Linked DNA regions of Homo sapiens: regions 1 and 2 are each linked to region 3. The links are contacts of gene promoters, found by promoter capture Hi-C in blood cells and fetal thymus (Javierre and others, 2016). All regions are on one chromosome and are shown on one strand. The core of a region is centred on a gene start or on the middle of the fragment in contact, and the rest is flanking DNA. Distances in the headings are between cores, read along the strand shown.

Evidence for each region. The method cuts DNA at HindIII sites, captures the fragments that hold promoters and counts their contacts. A CHiCAGO score of 5 or more calls a contact.
Region 1: a fragment that was not itself captured here is called in contact with the fragment with the promoter of PKD1L1-AS1 in region 3 in 4 of 17 cell types (erythroblasts, total B cells, fetal thymus and 1 more); the score reaches 7.2 in erythroblasts.
Region 2: a contact is called between a fragment that was not itself captured here and the fragment with the promoter of PKD1L1-AS1 in region 3, in 1 of 17 cell types (fetal thymus). The highest score is 5.1, in fetal thymus.

What each region holds. Positions count from the first base shown.
Region 1 is chr7:47,242,963-47,247,474 of GRCh38, reverse strand. No RefSeq gene overlaps it. Among named protein-coding and RNA genes, the nearest start is that of SNORD151, 220 kb to the left of the region's middle. The HindIII fragment of the contact is 280 bases long and covers 2,089-2,368 here.
Region 2 is chr7:47,196,577-47,201,064 of GRCh38, reverse strand. No RefSeq gene overlaps it. Among named protein-coding and RNA genes, the nearest start is that of SNORD151, 270 kb to the left of the region's middle. The HindIII fragment of the contact is 4,105 bases long and covers 78-4,182 here.
Region 3 is chr7:47,792,582-47,797,098 of GRCh38, reverse strand. PKD1L1-AS1 (PKD1L1 antisense RNA 1) reads right to left here and starts at 1,808. Exons shown (of 4, transcript NR_161269.1): 1 at 1,656-1,808. It overlaps PKD1L1 (polycystin 1 like 1, transient receptor potential channel interacting), which reads left to right. Exons shown (of 57, transcript NM_138295.5): 55 at 949-1,110; 56 at 4,302-4,472. The HindIII fragment of the contact is 8,231 bases long and covers 1-4,517 here.

The DNA.
Region 1 (4,512 bases), core at 979-3,478, 550 kb after region 3:
GTCTTCCATACAGATTGGGCTCCACAGTGTCCTTCCAAGTGAAATGGCGAAAAGCAAAGAATTTAACAGGATCTTCGAGCCACTTTTGCATGACACAGCTGCTTCCTATTTTGGCTGCTCATTGCTCTTGGATCTGATCCATTTGTACCTTCTCCTAGCTGGCTTGGGACCACAGGGTACTGCAGAGAATGCATTCCCCGAGCTCCTTCGCCAATTCATTTCTGGATATGTAGTTATATACAGTCATGCACTGCCTAACAGTGTTTCTCTGAACAATGCATGTGGTGGTCTCATAAGATTATAATACTGTATTTTTACTGTATCTTTTCAGTGTTTAGGTATGTTTAGATACATAAGTACTTGCCATTGGTTACAATTTCCTACAGTGAATAGTACAGTAACATGCTGTGTAAGTTTTTTTTGTTTTGTTTTTTTGAGATGGAGTCTCACTTCGTCACCCAGGCTGGAGTGCAGTGGAGCGATCTTGGCTCACTGCAACCTCCGCCCTCTGAGTTCAAGTGATTCTCCTGCCTCAGCCTCCCAAGTAGCTGGGATTACAGGTGCCTGCCACTGCACCCAGCAATTTTTTTTGTTTTTGTCTCTTGGGTTTATCTCCTGGCTCATGCATAAATGTGTGAGTGTTTCCTGGGGTGCAGGCAGGACCATGAATAACAACAATTGCACTCAAATCTCTGTGGCAGGGAGCACCGGCCCAGATGAGCAAGTGTCACACACAGGGAAGAAGACATCAGCCATCTCTGAGACTGGCCATCCATCCAGGAGCATTTCTTGGGCTCAGAGCAATGGTGACAGGGGTCTCAGTCACTTGGAAAGACAGTACCCGGGATACCTTGAGACACCTAGCAGAGGCTGCTGTGAGGCGAGGCAGGAGTGGCAGACACACCACAAGTGGCCATGGGCTTGTGGCAAGAAGTGGACTGCCAGGCCCGTGTGGCCTGGCTTGCTGGTCGAAAGTATTCAGGGCATGCTGGGGGACTCTGGGAATAATCGTGGAGCTTTGGAGAACTGGGATCCCAAACCATTGAGTTAGACAAGTTCTGGGAACCCTGGGTTATACAGAGCAGGGGTATGTGTAGGGAGAAAAGGGCCTGAGTCACTGTCCCTTGCAGCTGAGACCTGGAGAGAGGGGCAGGGAGAGAGCATGGCTCCTACCAGAGCAGGTCCAAGGCCTGGTCCCTGCCTCCTCTTCCCTGTACTTTGGAATTATTACTCTGCAGGGTGGGCTCTGCTGGCAACAGATGCTTGTTGAGCACCCCATCTCTCACACCACCATCCCTCCTCTCCTTGGTAGGAAAACTGGGAGCCCCTTAACCCATTGCCTTCCAGGAAGCTCTCTAGACTACAAGCATCCCCAGGGCAGCTCCGGGATTTTGTGTAAGAAGGCACCAAGAGGATAGTCTAGAAGCTGAATTTACATGGAAGACATTTTAATCATTATTCGGAGTGTCCTGGGGGCTTCAGGCAGTTATGAGGAAGGAGCATTTCCATATCTTTCAGCTACTCCCCCCAACGGCACACCCTGTCAGCTGGCTGCATGTAAGACTCAACCTCCTACAGCTCCAACAAGAAGTCCTGGAGGAAACCATGTTTACTGATGCGCTTATGGGAGAACAATGAATGGCTGTGTTGTGATGCTGGGGTTTCGCCTCTGGTTTGGCTGTGACTTGATTGTGGGTTTACACAGCCTCATGCCCTCTTTTTTCGTCTGTAGAAGATGAAGGTTGGGCCAATTACCCTGTGAGGGGTGCCCCCACACATTCTGCTTTGCACGGAGATGAGTGTGGCCACACCAGGGCCATGGGGGACGTGGGACACCCGACAGGAGGCCCCATGAGGTTGGAAGAGCCCTTTGAGCAGAGCACCCATCGATCTTCCCAGAGCTCCTTGGGGTATGGAATTCCATTGCAGCGCAAATTATTTATTTTTTTGTACTCACAAGCCATAATTTGCTAATGAACCAAATTCTGTCCCATGTGGTGCTTGGCTCTGTTGACACTGACAGCTCTCCGAAGTCATTAGCCCAGGAACCATAAACAGACTCTTCTACTTTTTCTTTTTTCTAAAGCTTTGGTGACAGTCATTTCTCGTTTCTTGGACTCTTCCCATCTTCAGAAAAGAGCTAGTTCTCGAAAGCCACCAGTGTGTGGTATTCTCTTAAGTATATATTTTAAGATGCCAGAATTTTCTATCACATGATAAAAACAATAAGTTGGAAATAGTGAGGGAAAATGTCTCACTATTTACTTTTAATGATCAGTTTCTGCAGAGTGTTGATTGCTAATGCAGCCAGTGAAGTCAATTTTGAAAGTTGCTTCTGCCGAGACAGAGGAGGCATCTGAGAAAAGCTTAGGCCACCTTAACTTTCTAAGTGGCTTCAAGGAGATAGTCAAGTGGACCTATCCTGGGAGGGGCAAGGGCCTGTTCTTCTGGTGTCTGGTTGGGTTGTGTTTTCATCAGCTGTCATTAGTTGATGCAACAGAAGCCAGCCAATGCCACTGCTCACCAGAGGCATATTTCTTAGCTAGTAGGGACTGTCAGTGGCTCATGAGGGCAACTCTGTTCCTTGTGTCTTGCTCCACACTGCTACATTCTGAAGCTGGTGACACAGGGCTCTCTGTAATCTGGAACATCCTGTGCTCACAGCAGAAAGGAAAGAAAGCAGTGGGACATCCCAGCAAATGCCTCTGATAGCACCTGCCTGAATTGGTCATGGCAGGTCACAGGGTGAGAGCTTTGTCCAGGGCTAGGAAACATCCTCTGTGCACGCTGTCCAAGAGGTCGTGGGTGAAGGGTCGGAATCCGCTCACGCTGGGTTGCACTTCTGGAGGTGTGAGTTACAGGTGCAGTAAGATAAGCTTCCCTGTGCTCTTTCAGGCGCTATAGGCAGAAAAGCCAACATAAACTGGCTTTAAAAAAGAGGAAAGAATGCAAAAGGAAAGAAAAGAAGAGAAAATAGAGGTGTACCCACCTCAAAGGTCATCCTCCTTTTTGTGTGGTTTGACCAGGAGCTCATTCCCATCGCTGGTTCAACACTATTTGCACAGGCCTGCCTCAACAGATCTTTACTGCGACAATGCCGGCTACAGCCCTGCAGGCCCGGCATCCTCTCAGCTTCTCCAGAATGAGAATGGCTTCCCCAGGAGCTCAAGGTCTCTTTGTGTCTTGATGATTCTTACCTGGTCAGAGGAGTGATTGGATCGACCAGGCCCATCACCACCACTGCAAACCATAATTGAGAGTAGGGAGTGGTCTCCAAGAGGAACATGGAAGAAGGGGGAGCATCCTGGGTGCCAAGATGGAAACCCACAACTAGGCTTCATAGTTCCTGAAGTCACACAACCCTTTTGAGACCAGGCAGGTCACTCCTGAGGGATTTTATGCCTCATTCTATAAATAGTTGCACTGGATACTAGGAAGCTCATAGCCAACAATTTTCTTCTAATTTTATTTTGAATATATTCTTATCATAAAACATCCGTGCAATCCACTTAGATCTCAAATTCCACTTGACCACTACCCATTTCCACTTGTTTTCCCGGTGGTTACCATTATTATCAGATTAGTGTGCATCTTTTGAGGACATTTTCTGTTTGGAAGCAAGTATGTAGCCTACTTCATGCAGTGCTCAGAAAGAAAACCAGGAAAAATTATCATGAAAAACTTGGAGATTTGAGGTGATATCCAATTTCTTTACATGTATTTCACTTTATTTTTATTTCATTTTATTTAATTTTTAATTTTTATTTATTTATTTTTTTGAGATAGGGTCTTACTCTGTTGCCCAGGCTGGAGTGCAGTGGTACAATCTTGTCTCACTGCAACCTCCACCTCCCAGGTTCAAGTGATCCTCCCTAATCAGCCTCCTGAGTAGTTGGGATTACAGGTGTCCGCCACCACACCCAATCAGTTTTTGTATTTTTAGTAGATATGGGGTTTCTCCATGTTGGCCAGGCTGGTCTCGAACTCTTGACCTCAGGTGATCCACCCACCTCAGCCTTCCAAAGTGCTGGGATTACAGGTGTGATCCCTTGAGAGAGAGACAAGGAGAAAGAGAGAGGAGGGTGGTGGAAGGGAGGGAGGGGAAAGAAAGGATGAGCGACAGAGCCAGCTGGCTCCAAGGGTTTATTTTTAGCCACAGTGGGGCAGGTGGAGTCTAGGGAAACGGCCTTGTCATGAAGCCCATCTCTAGGTAAGAGGAATGGGCAGGGTTAAGTCATGTGGCCCCAATAAGACAAAGGAGGGGTGGTGTTTAGGAGCAAGGAGAGGAGGCCGTGGAGCCATCTATATTAGGAACTATCACTGTGCCTCACTCAAGGAGCTCCTGTCTCTGATAACCACTTTATGCATATTTATTTGAAAACAAATTTTTTTTTGAGATGGGGTCTCGCACTGTCGCCCGGGCTGGAGTGCAGTGGCGTGATCTCAGCTCACTGCAACCTCTGTCTACCATCTTCAAGAGATTCTCCTTCCTCAGCCTCCCAAGTTGCTGGG
Region 2 (4,488 bases), core at 881-3,380, 600 kb after region 3:
GAAGAGAGAAATGATTTAAAGATGGAATTTGTAATTAAAAGTAAAACAGAACCTAAAGATTTTGAAAATTCTAAGCTTGTCTATTTAAAGAATAAATATGTATGCTTAGAAGAGAAAACCAAGGGTATGGCCAAATGAACATTTGATAAGGAAATTAACATGGATAGAAGGGACCAGATGCTATTCATCAAGACAATGGATGATGACCCCAAAGCCATTTCGGATATATTTGGGGTTCCCATGCTCATTGCAGGCCCAGAGTTCTAGGGCCTTGCGGGCAGAACAGTTTCTGGGGAGAAACCAGGATACCCATAGGACCTCAGGGTTTGTGGCCCAAGGCTGTCCCAAGTCTCTGTTCTCCACATTCTGGTGTAATGCTCCTTGGCCACCCCTGCTATGGCTTAGAGGGGACCTACATGCAGCTGGGGCCACTGCTACAGAAGACACAGGGAGTGAGATTTAATGTTGTTTATGTGGTGCTAATTTTTCAGGCAAGCAGAATGCAAGAGCTGTGGAGGCATAGCTACCTCCACCTAGATTTTCAAGAATGCCTTGAGGCCAAGGCATATCTGCCACAGCGGTGGGGCTGTTACAGAGAACCCACCCTATGGGAATGCTTAGTGAAGTTGTGGGGACAGGACCACCCCCAGAGACCTCATGGCTATAGAAACACCAGTGTGCAGCACCAGCCTGGGAGGGCTGTAGGCACCTGGACTCCCACCTGAGAGAACTGTGGTATGAGCAAAAACAAAAATCTCTAGCAGAGCCATGAGGGTGGGGGCTGCCAGGAATCTTGAGGGCAAATCTCTGCCCCAGTATGTCTGGAAGGTGATACATGGACTCAAAGAAAATTATTCTCTAGCCTTAAGATTTAATGTTTGCTCTGTTGTGTTTCGGACTTGTCATTTCTTTCTTCTTATTTCTCTCTTTTGAAATGAAAATGTTCTAATGTAAGTATTTCTTGTAAAAGTTTTGTATGAAAATGTTTATAGATGCATTATTTATAATAGCCCCAATCCGGAAACAGCCCAAATGTCTATCACTAGGAGAATGAATAAGTAAATTGCGGTATACTTGTGGTAAACACTTTTTATCTATGTAACAACATGGATGCCTGTCCCACTATTGTATTTTGGAAATACATATCTAATTTGATTTTACAGGTTCACAGCTGGGAGGAAATTAGCCTTAGGATGAATAGTTCCTTGAGTCTCACCCACATGATGTTTACATGAGACTGGATTTAAAATTTAAAATTAATTCTGAGATAAATTAAGACTTGGGGGCTACTGGGGCTGTTGAAATGGAGTGACTGCATTTTCTTTTTATGTAAGAAAGAAGTGAACTTTGGGGGCCAGGAGCAAAATGCTATTGTTTGAATGTTCATGTCCCTCCAAAATTTATGTTGAAACTTAATCCCCACTGCAACCATATTGGGAAATGAGGTCTTTGGGAGGTGACTGGGTCATGAGGGCTCTGTTCTCATGATAGGATTAGATGCCCTTATGAAAAAACTTGATGGAAGTGGTTCATCTCTTTTTGCCCTTCTGAGGTCTCTGCCATGTGAGGACACAGCGTCCCTCCACTCTGGAGGATGCAGCATTCAATGTGCCCTCTTGGAAGTAGAGACTCGACCCTCGCCAGAAGGCTGAACCTGCTGGCATGTTGATTTTGGATTTCCCTTTCTCTAGAACTGTGAGAAATACATTTCTGTTCTTTATAAATTACCCAGTTTCAGGTATTTTGTTACAGCAGCACAGGTAGACTAAGACAGTCACTATGACAAACTCTAAATGGCAGCACATAATGACGATGTTATGGACTAAATATTCCCCCTCGAATTCATATGTTGAAGCTCTAACCCCCAATGGGGTGATATTTGGAAGTGGGGTCTTTGGGGGAGATTGAATTTAGATGAGGTGATGGGTGGGCCCATGATAGGATTAAGTGTCTTTGTAAGAAGAGACAAGAGAGACCAGAGTTCACTCACTTTTTGTCTTCATCTCTCTTTCTCTTTCTCTCCCTCTCCGCCTTCCCCCTGCCATGTGAGGACACAGAGAGAAGGTGACCATTTGCAAGTCAGGAAGAAGGCCTTCACCAGAACCCAACCATGCTGCAGACATTCTGATCAAGACTTTCAGCCTCCAGAACTGTGAGAAAATAAATGTCTGTTATTTTAGATGCTTAGTCCACGGTATTCTGTCATTGCAGCCCAAGTTGAACAAAGTAGATGATTGTAACAATAAAAATGAAAATAAAAACATCAGCAGTGAGCGTTTATTGAGCACGTGGGTACCAGGCATTAGGAGGAGCACTTAGTTGTGGGTTTATCTACATAAGCCACAACATGCCAGCACACTACTCTCTCTATAGGGTCAAACACTATCTCTATCCTACTGATAGTGAGCTGGCCTTAGACAGCTAAAATGACTTAAGCATCTAGGGAATTAGAAGAAACTTCCTAGGAGGAGATTCTTGAAAGACAACATGGGTTGGTTCGATATAAAGTGGGTCAAGGTGGGGGCCAGTTAGGCAGAAGCGTAGAATGTGAGAAGCCATGAGCAAAGTGAGTTTATGCTACACACTGGGAGGTGAGCACTGGGGAATGGTGAGGGATGAGGCTGCAGATGAATCAGGGACAGATCTGAAGGGTCTGGCAGGCAGTTTGGACTTTAACCTGGGCTCTTAAACTGCACTAAGCAGTGGGGCAGTGTAATCAGAAGAGCATTGCAGCTGTCATGTGAGGAATGAATTGAAGCCAAGAATATGACTAGAAAGGATGACTGTATCACAATCATCCAGTCAGAAGAGTAAATTGGGCTGGACCAAAGATGTTAAAGAAACATGATAAACAAAGGCAGGGATGCCCAGGGATTGATCTAGTGCTTTTTGTCTGGTCAAGCAGCAGCATGGAAGTGCTGAGGGCTGAGTGGACGATCAGTCTAAGGGGATAGAGATGATGTGTTTTCTTTTAGATATGTTGAATTTTCAATACCTGGGGGACTCTTAGTAAGGAGTTGGAAATGCTATTTGGGAGTTGGGGAAGGAAGGCTGTACAGAAGACACAGGAGGTTGGTCATTAACACGTGGTGGTGGCTGATGCTAGGGAGGTGACAAGGCAACTAAGGGAGCATGTGTAGCCTATGTAAAGGGAGACAGGAAGGCCACAGGGGAAGCCTAACATTTTACAGCAGAAGGAGAGTTGCTAGCTAAGGACACTAGAAGGAAGTGGTCACAGACTTGGGAGAAATCAGAAGGATGTGTGTGATCCTAGCCAACAGGGCCCTCAAGAACTGCAAAGAAATCCTTCTCTTCAGTGGATATATAATTTCTTTCTTTACCCCCACTGGAGGTATTCCAAACACTTTACTTACTTCCCACACTCCCCATCTGTCCTAGTTGGCTTGGGCTGCCATAACATAGTATCATAGGCTGGGTGGCTTAAGCAACAGAAATTTATCTTTTCACAGTTCTGGAGTTCAGATGACAAGATAAAGGTGCCATCGTTGGTTTCTGGTGAGGGCTCACTTCCTGGCTTGTAGACGGCTGCCTTCTTGCTGTGTCCTGACATGGCCTCTTCTCTGTGCATACAGGGGTGGTGGAGAGAGTACCCTACTCTTTTTCTCTCTTCCTATTCTTATAAGGCCACCAGTCCTAGCAGGTTAGGGACCCACTCTTAGGACCTCATTTAACCTTATTTACCTCCATAAAGACCTTATCTCCAAATATAGTTATATTAGGGGTTAGGGCTTCACCATAGGAATTTTGGGGGAACACAATTTAGTCCATTATACCACCCAGCTCACTCAATTTTTGTAGAAGGTCTCACCAAGAGATTTGTCAAATAACTGTCGAAGGGATGTAGGAGGAAATAATATCAACTGCAGAGGTGAGTGGGACTAGCCTAGAACATGAGGATCCTGAACTCCCCAAGACAGGAGGGAAGAGAAGACGTGAATGAGAGCAGGGACAAAAAATGAGAACAGAGAGAAGGGGATGCAAGGGGCTTTCACGTGGAGTGACACATTGTAAATGACTTCCTCTACTCCAGTGACTTTTTGAAAATTAATTTCCTAAAAATTGTGCTTGTATTCCCTCCCCACCTCTATTTTTAGCCATCCATTGCAGTAGATCATTTATGCTGTGAAGGTCTATTTTATGCCAAGTTCTGTGATTGAAGCTTGGGGAGGAACATGTGCCTCAGACATAGTTTCTCCCCGTTACAGTTTCACTGATTCTTTGAAAGGGGGCTTAGACATGCAAAATAAATTACAGTATGGTGTAACTGGCCCTGTAATACAGGTGTGTTTTAAAATCTATTATAAATAGTTGTTCAAAGTCTAACATGAGTGACATGTGGTATAATAAGCAAAGAAAGCTTTGCAGGCTGCCTCTCCCTCCTGTTTGTCTGTTTGTGCCTGTGTAGAAACTGAAGTGATGCAGCTTACAGAACTTCCAGGAAAGCTTTTGATTTTGAATTAGACTTAT
Region 3 (4,517 bases), core at 559-3,058:
AGTGGGTAACAGCTGTCCCCTGAGGTTTTGCAGGGTGTGTAAAGCTGACAGGCTCTAAATGGCTAAAATGTTTGTTTGGGTGTTTTTTTTTTTTTTTTTGAGACGGAGTCTTGCTCTGTCGCCCAGGCTGGAGTGCAGTGGCGCAATCTCTGCTCACTGCAAGCTCCGCCTCCCGGATTCACGCCATTCTTCTGCCTCAGCCTCCCGAGTAGCTGGGACTACAGGTGCCCACCACCACACCCAGCTAATTTTTTTTTTTTTTTTTTTTGTAATTTAGGAGAGACAGGGTTTCACCATGTTAGCCAGGATGGTTTCAATCTCCTGACCTCATGATCCGCCTGCCTTGGCCTCCCAAAGTGCTGGGATTACAGGCATGAGCCACTGCGCCCAGCCCTGTTTGGGTTATTTTTTAAACAATTGGATGTGTAAAAATTCGAGTTTGTTACCAGTAGGCTTTTGAGCTAACAGCTTACAGCCTGCAGTGAAGAAATAAACCACCTGGAGGCTTATAGAGCACATGTTGAGGGCACAACAACTTGCTGAGCCCAAGACCCTTTCTGGTCTCCCAGGCACAGGCACAGGCCTCTCTCCTGAGGCTCACCCACAGCTCAGAATGGTTCACCAGGGGACACTGAAACTGAGACACAGACTTTACATATGGGCATGCACATCGCGTTGATAATCTCAGTCTCCAAAGTTAGATACTGAAAACAACCTTTATAATACAATGAATTTCCATTGCTGAGATCATCTTACTGCCATTTAGTTCAATTCAGGAGAGGTATTTTCCTGATTTTGCTTTTTTTCACCAAGAAATCACTATTTTACCAAAAGCTCGTAAAGTAGCATCATCAGATATAATCTCCATTGCATAGTTTATCACGTTAACAAAGCTCTTTATTTAGGCTGCTAACATGAAATTTGTCTTTATTTTTTTCTTTTTCCTAGCTGAGAGGTTTTCTCATGACTTTACCCCAAAAAAGAAAATCTTTTCAAAGTAAATCTTTTGTGAGACTTAAAGATGTCACTGCTTATATGTGGGAAAAGGTCCTCACCTTTCTGAGACTGGAAACACCAAAGTTGGAAGAGGCTGAGATGGTTGAGAATCACGTAAGCTGTGAGATCTTGGATTACTGAGCATGATAGCACACACTCAAGATGATGGTTTCATTGCAGAATTTTGCTTTCAGTTATCAAAGCATGAGTATGTTTCCATGCCAAATCTCCTTGCAAAGCCACAAAATTAGTCTCAATCATAGTGGAACTCATGGAATTTTCCCGTGCAATTCTAAAACACTTTACAGATTACCAAGCACATTCTCCTGCCTTAACTCACTATATCCTTATAGTGACCTGTACAGTTGGAAAGACAGAGTTTATGGTCTTCCCCAGGACACAGACATGCTGTATTCTGTCCCCTGAGTTAGTCATTTGCTTTTGGTGCCTGCTATCAAACCCAAACTTCTATCCAAAACATAGAGCCTTAGGTGCATTACTTGAGTTCAGTCACCCCAGACATGCATGTAAACAAATCAAACCAGGCGTTTGCACACTGAATACTCACTTTCTTCATGGCTGATATATTAGTTTGTTTTCATACTGCTGATAAAGACATACCCAAAACTGGGAACAAAAAGAAGTTTAATTGGACTTACATTTCCACATGACTTGGGAGGCCTCAGGTTCATGGTGGGAGGTGAAAGGCACTTCTTACATGGTGGTGGCAAGAGAAAAATGATCCAGATGCAAAAGTGGAAACCCATTATAAATGATCAGATCTTGTGAGACTTCTTCACTATCACAAGAATAGCATGAGAAAGACCAGCCCCTATGATTCAATTACCTCCCACTAGGTCCCTCCCACAACATGTGGGAATTCTGGGAGATATAATTCTAGTTGAGATTTGAATAGGGACACAGCCAAACAATATCATTCTGCTCCTGGCCCCCTCCAAATCTCATGTCCTCACATTTCAAAACCAATTATGCCTTCCCAAAAGTCCCCCAAAGTCTTAACTCATTTTAGCATTAACCCAAAAGTCCACAGTCCAAAGTGTCATCTGAGACAAGGCAAGTCCCTTCCACCTATGAGCCTGTAAAATAAAAAATAAGTTAGTTACTTCCTAGATACAATGGGGGTACAGGGATTGGGTAAATACAACTGTTCCAAATGGGAGAAATTGGCCAAAACCAAGGGGTTACAGGCCCCATACCAGTCCAAAATCCAACAGGTCAATCAAATTTTAAAGCTCCAAAATGATCTCCTTTGATTCCAGGGCTCACATGTAGGTGATGCTGATGCCAGAGGTGGGTTCCCATGGTCTTGGGCAGCTCTGCCCCTGTAGCTTTGCAGGGTACAGCCTCCTTCCTGGCTGCTTTCATGGGCTGGCATTGAGTGTCTGTGGCTTTTCCAGGTGCACAGTGCAAGTTGTCAGAGGATCCACCATTCTGGAGTCTGGAGGATGGTGGCCCTCTTCTCACAGCTCCACTAGGTCCCTTCCACACTGCCCTAGCAGTTCTCCATAAGGGCCCCGCCCCTGCAGAAAACTTTTGCCTGGGTATCCAGGCATTTCCATACATCTTCTGAAATCTAGGCTGAGGTTCCTAAACCTCAATTCTTGACTTCTGTGCACCCATAGGCTCAATACCACATGGAAGCTGCCAAGGCTTGGGGGTTCCACTCTCTGAAGCCCCAGCCCAAGTTGTACAATGGCCCCTTTCGGCCATGGCTGGAGCAACTGGGACACAGGGCACCAAGTCTCTAGGCTGCACACAGCACGGGGAACCTGGGCCCAGTCCACTAAACCACTTATTCCTCCTTGGCATCCAGGCCTATGATGGGAGAGGCTGCTGTGAAGGTCTCTGACATGACTTGGCGACATTTTCCCCATGGCCTTGGGGATTAACATTAGGCTGCTTGCTACTTATGCAAATTTCTGCAGCTGGCTTGAACTTCTCCCCAGAAAATGAGTTTTTCTTTTCCACTGCATTGTCAGGCTGCAAATTTCTTTAACTTTTATGTTCCATTTCCCATTTAAAACGGAATGCTTTTAACAGCACCCAAGTCACCTTTTGAATGCTTTGCTGCTTAGAAATTTCTTCTGCCAGATACCCTAAAAATCATCTCTCTCAAGTTCTAAGTTCCACAAATCTCTAGGGTGGGGCAAAATGCTGCCAGTCTCTTGCTAAAACATAACAGGAGTCACCTTTGCTCCAGTTCCCAACAAGTTCCTTATCTCCATCTGAGACCACCTCAGCCTGGACTTTATTTTTCATATCACTATCAGCATTTTTGTCAGAGTCATTCCACAAGTCTCTAGGAGGTTCCAAACTTTCCCACATTTTCCTGTCTTCTTCTGAGCCCTCCAAACTGTTCCAACCTCTGCCTGTTATCAAGTTCCAAAGTCACTTTCACATTTTTGGGTATCTTTTCAGCAACACCCCACTCTACTGGTACCAATTTACTGTTTTAGTTCATTTTCAAGCTGCTGATAAAGATATAACTGAAACTGGGGACAAAAAGATATTTAATTGGACTTACAGTTCCACATGGCTGGGGAGGCCTCAGAATCATGGCGAGAGGTGAAAGGCACATCTTACGTGGCAGTGGCAAGAGAAAAATGAGCAAGATGCAAAAGCGGAAACACCTGATAAGCCATCAGATCTCATGAGATCTTATTCACTATCACAAGAATAGCACGGGAAAGACCAGCCCCCATGATTCAATTACCTCCCCCCAGGTCCCTCCCACAACACAGGAATTCTGGGAGATACAATTCAAGTTGAGATTTGAATGGGGACACAACCAAACCATATCAGGTGATATTTAAGCATCATCCAGTAAGGTTCTGAAGGCAGTCATATGTAATCACGGTACTGTACATTTTGATAGGGCTTTATTCTCTGTCATGTGCTTCCCCATCCATTATTGCCTTATTTTTTTAATAGTGCTCAATAAAGATTTATTAATCGAAGGGATGAAAGAATGACCTTATTTTCCCATAGCAGCATGATGCATTACTGCCTTTAAATCCATTCAATAGTTTTTTTTATGTAGGCATTATTAACTGTAGCATTTACATGTATATCTGTATACGTACATTATTATTGAAGCAACTGAGATATAGAGATGTAAGAGTAGGCCCAGCACCCAGGTCTTCTAACTGCAGGCAGAGTCAGTATGTTTCCTAACATAGCCCAATACTGTCTACAGATGATACCCCTAAATGCTTCACATAATGAGGAAAGGGGGATAATGAGATTCTTGAATGCATTTACTAATCTAATTTTCTTCCCTTCAGAATTACTACTTGGATGAATTTGCAAATCTGTTAGACGAACTTCTGATGAAGATTAATGGTTTGTCCGACAGCCTACAACTCCCCCTTCTGGAAAAAACATCCAACAACACAGGGGAGGCAAGGACAGAAGAGAGTCCCTTAGTGGACATTTCTAGTTACCAAGCTGCTGAGGTAAGACCATGCAAAATTATTTATGTCAATTTTCTTCATAGCAAT